Regions from separate parts of the Homo sapiens genome. Here region 2 is linked to region 1. The links are contacts of gene promoters, found by promoter capture Hi-C in human tissues and cell types (Jung and others, 2019). All regions are on one chromosome and are shown on one strand. Each heading gives the region's core, a stretch centred on a gene start or on the middle of the fragment in contact. The rest is flanking DNA. Distances are from core to core; before and after follow the strand shown. Region 1 holds the start of DEPDC1B (DEP domain containing 1B). Region 2 overlaps PDE4D (phosphodiesterase 4D).

Evidence for each region. The method cuts DNA at HindIII sites, captures the fragments that hold promoters and counts their contacts. A contact is called where the count stands out against the background at its distance.
Region 2: a contact is called between a fragment that was not itself captured here and the fragment with the promoter of DEPDC1B in region 1, in 2 of the 25 tissues and cell types used here (H1 embryonic stem cells and hippocampus).

The regions. Positions count from the first base shown.
Region 1 is chr5:60,698,809-60,701,508 of GRCh38, forward strand. It overlaps DEPDC1B (DEP domain containing 1B), which reads right to left and starts at 1,358. Exons shown (of 11, transcript NM_018369.3): 1 at 1,238-1,358. The coding sequence starts at 1,285. LOC124900982 (a long non-coding RNA gene) reads left to right here and starts at 1,432. Exons shown (of 2, transcript XR_007058779.1): 1 at 1,432-1,533. The HindIII fragment of the contact is 4,370 bases long and covers 1-2,700 here.
Region 2 is chr5:59,763,556-59,766,255 of GRCh38, forward strand. The region is part of intron 1 of PDE4D (phosphodiesterase 4D); the gene reads right to left. Among named protein-coding and RNA genes, the nearest start is that of MIR582, 61 kb to the left of the region's middle. The HindIII fragment of the contact is 9,367 bases long and covers 1-2,700 here.

The DNA of each region.
Region 1 (2,700 bases), core at 108-2,607:
GCGCATGCCACCATGCCCAGCTAATTTTTGTATTTTTAGTACAGACGGGGTTTTGCTGTGTTGGCCAGGCTGGTCTCGAACTCCTGACCTCAAGCGATCCATCCCCTTAAATCATGTAAAATTTCATGAGTATGTGCCATGTGCAGTTTTCTGTGAAGAAGATCCTTAATCTTCATCAGATTCTCAAAGCGATCTATGAGCCAAATTTAAAAAGTAAAGACCCATCAGCCCCAACTATGATTTCTCTTCCAGAAGCTGGCCTTCTCAGCTCTGGCTTGACTTACTGGTATAGTGTGTGGCTGGCTTTGGAAAGAAAAGGAAACTCTATTTACATTATCTGTATCCCAGCATCCTCACCTCTTCCATGAGTCTAGCTGAGTAAGAGTTTGGATGTTAGTTCCCATCTTTTCCTGTGTATTCATTATAATGCATGGAACTATGAGAGTAATTCCCATGTTAAATGTGGCCAGAGAGGTCGGCAGACCAAGGAGCAAGTTACTGTCCTCCCAAATTACCATTACACTTCCACAGAAAGTCCTCTAAAAACTTGCCACAGACATTACCAAACTGTCACCCTTTATTGTTCCAAGTCAAAGCAGACCAAGTACACCTCAATACCAAAGCTTTTCTCCCAGAAAAAAAAAAAAAAAAAAACAGGAACTCAGAGTCGGCAAAGACTCTCCTAAAACATCTGTCCTGGCCAGCTCTTCATCTGGATCGGTGCTGACAGAAACAGAAACGCCAGGGGCCGGAAATGCGGCCAGCGCGATGCCCCTCTGTTCTGGGCACCGTTTATTCGAATACCCCGTCAGGTATCATCAGGTGTCACTCAGGAAGGAGACACGCCCTGCCTGGACTGCCGCGAACGCTGAGCGTTACGGGGTACGTGGTGGCCCCTCAGGTTACCGACCGGGTCGGTTAGATTCCAGAGGACAAAAGGCAGGGAACAGCCTGGTCTTGGGGTCTTTAAACAGAGAGGCGCCATCTACTGCCGAGAACCCAGTCAACATCTCATGGACAAAGCTGCACTAACCCCCGGCCGGCTGAGCTCTGGGCCCCGTTAGCCTTTCTTTGAGGCTCGTCCACTAAAAGGCAGCCCCAGTAGTCCCAGCTGAAATGCTCCACACCCGAGCCCCGCTGGCCTGCGGAAGCGAAGACTGACAAGCACTCTGTCCGCGCGCTGAGTGGGGGCTCGCGGCACCGGGTGCTCCGCCCAGGCCCCAGCACACTCACTCACCAGCCTGGTAGCTCGGTACGGCCCGGGCCCCACGATGCGATGCTCCATGGCGCGTAGGCAGCAGCGGCCGCAGCCGCGCCAGCGCTGATCCCCGCCAGCCGGAGGAGCAGCAGTTTGAATCCCAAGCCCGCGGGCTGCGGGCGCTGATTGGGCGGCGCGGCAGCACGTCACCGGAAATGCGCGGGGAGGCAGGCGTCTTCTCCGAGACCCGCGGCGCTGGGAGCTCCGCGTGCGAACTTGCCCGGGGCGAAATCTGTTGCCCACCCTGGTCCCACCGTGCGAGCACACCTAGGCAGGTGCGACTAAGGGGCCGGGGGCGTCTCCCCAGCGCTGGAAAACGCTGTGCAGCGCCCTTCCCAGATTTCTGCGTCCGCGCAACACAAACACACGCAACGCTATCTCTACAAAAGGGTCAATAATAGGTGTTATCCAGCGACCGAAACCCAGCTTTGGGCCGCGTGGATAAATACCTGTCCTCCCTACCAAGTGCACTGTGAGCCTGGAGGTGCTGCTAACGCTGGGAGAAGCGGTAGTGAAATGAAGCGAGGCGACAGCTTTTACCAGTGTAGGGACATTTAAAAACGGGATAGAGAGCACAAGGAGCGTAGACAGTGTGTTAAGGGCAATAAAGAGCGGGAAGGGAGCCCCGATTCCTCTTCTGTTTGTTCTCATGATAGTCTTTTCCCCTTTAATTTGAGTTCTATGTTTTGTATTGGGCTGATACTTTTAGTCCTCGGCAATAGGGTTGTGAGTCCTTTTTTGACTGCTTAGAATTTTCCCCCTGGGAATTGCTAGTCCGATTTGCAATCTTTCAGAGGGACAAATGAAGTAACTCCATATACTTAGGACTCTGTACACCTACTCAAATTTGGTCATCTCGGTAAGTACCCAGGACAAGACGTTGAAGGAGTGAAGGTGTGCCATTCCAAAATATGCCTAATTGGTATATTGATTATTTCGAGCGGAAAACATTGGAGAAATGGTAGTTTCAGAAAGGGCAAGCTGACCTGCCTCTTCGATGCAGCAGGCCACAAAGATTTCTCTGGGATGGGCATCCTCTCCCTACCACGGTGAGAAAATAGCCTTTATCACCAAAGGCTTGGAATTGAAGGCTGCAGTGGACCTGAATAAACATTCTTAACGAAGTAACCCTATCTTCCACTAGGAGATATAGGAGATTTTTTACATATATCTTCTAGTGACTCCCTAGAAAATGTTACTGCCTTTGTGAGCTGTGGAAGTTAACTCGAGTCACAGGGCACCAAAATATGTTAGCAGCTGCCCATATCCGAGACACGGCCCCAAAGTATGTTACAGGCAGTGAATTCCTACAGATCTGCAGCAACCTCAATTCTTGACTCCTCAGAAGAAAGAGTTCGACTGAGGGGCATAAGGCAAAAGGAGAGACCAAGGCAAGTATTAGAACAGAAGTGAAGTTTATTAAAAAGCTTTGAATGAAAGGA
Region 2 (2,700 bases), core at 196-2,695, 940 kb before region 1:
ACACCCCAAAACTGTGCTTAAAATTCAATGACGAGAAAAGCCTGAAGAATGTGAAGAACTTCCTGATTTCAATTTTCCTGAAATAAACTAGTACTGGAAGTTAAGTTTTCTTCACCAGAGATTCCATTGACTTTGTAGTTCCTGCTGATGATAGAGGGAATCCCCTACCAGATGAAATCTGAATCATGTCTATAATCACTAGAACTACAAGGCATTGCATGTTTAGTAAAAGCAGTCAAACAGATTAGTGAAAAGCAGAGACACAAGAGAATTCTAATCCTAACAGATGGTGCCAGACCAAAACCAGTGCTCAACACATACTAGCTAGTGATAAAACTATTACTAATAAGCATTGAGAGTATCAGAGACAAGAGGCGCAATAGAAATCTGTTCCTTGAAGGAAGGAACGGATTACTTCCAGTTGGGAGAACTGGAGGAACCTTTTAGGAAAACCAGGAATTTGAAAGATGTATTTTTGCAGTGGGCAGAGAAGAGACACCAAACCCCACAGTTCTGCCTCAGTAGTATCTCTCATTTCTGCCTTCTCCTTTCCTACAGTAATAAAACTGACATACACTCGTTTCTTTCAACTCTTGTCTCTTCACTCTAATTCATCCACAAATGACTGACAGAGTAATCATCTAGAAATTTAAACATGATCCTAAAGGTTCATGCAGACCAAGGCTGGAATAATGGGCACAGAGTACATAATAAAAAAAATACTAGCTTATAATGACACCCACTAAGGGTCCAGCCCTGTGAAACCACTTAATTTATACATAATTGTACTTAATTAAACCACAACCCCCAATAGATACTATTCCCAGAAAACTGACTAACGGGGAAACTGAAGCACACGTTAAGTAACTTGACCAAAGTCACACAATTACTAAATGCAAAGTAAGAATTTAAGTTTAGTCTCTTTTCTAACTGCTTTGGTGCTGAGTGACATAGCACCTAGAGTATGCTGTCAATTCAGTAGCTATTCTTTAAATGGATCATGAAAACCCAAGAGAAGTCTAGATAAAAACTACCTGGTAAATATAGCATATAGAAATGAAATAACAGGATGTTTACTTAAGAAAAGAGAAGTCCCTTTTTTTTTTTTTTTTTTTTTGGTGACAGAGTCTTGCTCTGTCACCCAGGCTGGAGTGCAGTGGCACAATCATGGCTCACTGCAACCTCCGCCTCCTGAGTTCAAGTGATTCTCGTGCCTCAGCCTCCTGTGGAGCTGGGATTACAGGCACACATCACCATGCCTGGCTAATTTTTTGTATTTTTAGTAGAGACGGTGTTTCGCCATGTTGCCCAGGCTGGTCTCAAACTCCTGAGCTCAGGGACTCCGCCCTCCTCAGCCTCCCAAAGTGCTAGGATTATAGGCATGAGCCACCATGCTTAGCCCAAGAGAAGTCTTTTTTAAGAGCATGAGAACACTAAAATATTGATTAATGAATTTGTTTAGCAGACATTTATTAAGCTTCCACCATTGACCAGCCATCATGCCAAGCATGGGTATACCAAAATGAATGAATAGGGCCCTGGTTCTCTGGTGGGTTACTCCAAGCCACTTGCCTTAGGGCTTCATAATGGAAGGGAGCAAAAATTCAAGTTGTAGGATTCCCAAAGCAGATCTTGGATCCATGGATGATAGTTGCAGGGAAGGAGACTTCTACTGTTTAGAAGCAAGGTCTTTCCAATCAACAGCCCTATCAAACAACAGAAGTGCTTCTGTATAATCTTCATCAAGGAGGTTTGACGAGAGGTTCAAGGACTTGTTATTACAGATGTTATTCTAAGAATTCAACAATGGCATATGTTATTACAGATGTTATTCTAAGAATTCAACCATGGCATAGAGGGTAAATCAGATAGCCCTTAACATACTATATAACCAAGATAGATTAGCCACCAGCACTTTACCTTATGCCTTGGAACAGAGCTATGTTTCCCAGCCTCCTTTGCAGTTAGATGTGGCCATAGAACTGAGTTCCAGCCAGAAGAAAACGAGTATAAGTGACATGTGCACTTCCCGGCCTGTCTCATAAAAGTTCACACATACCATCCTCTTTCATGGTCTTTCTCCTGATTCATCTGAGCCTGGCAACCTTGGGAATCACATGTTGCAAATAATGGAACCACAGGATGGTAGAATTCCAGGTCCCTGAGGCACCCAGTGGCTAGGGCAGGCTGCCTCCCCACAAAAAGCAGAAGCAAGAAATAAAAATTCACTGTGTCAATCCAATGAGATTTGGAGACTATTTTGTAGAACAGCAAGATTATCTTAGCTAAAACAGATGTCTTCCAATATTATTGATTTATTCTACCATGGTATAAATTATTGGAAACCAACAAATGGTTCTTGCTCAACTTTGTAATAATTAGGTACAGAATAAACATGTTAGACTCAGTAGGTATTAAGTGTATGCATAGCGAATGGAGGGGAATACCAGGAGCAGGAAACTGTGAGGCAGAACACTGTACTAGCAACAAATTAGATACAAATATATTTATATTTATGTCAGAACAATTTGAAACATATTTTCAAAATTCTCCATAGTGCTTAGCACAAACTGTGAAAGCACAAATGAGATTTTTGTCAAAAGATGCCTGTGGATATTATGAACGTCTTGGGGCTCATTCAACCAATATGGAAAACTTGAGATACTCTTTCCAACTCCCTTGCCTGATAGTTTTAGTCCA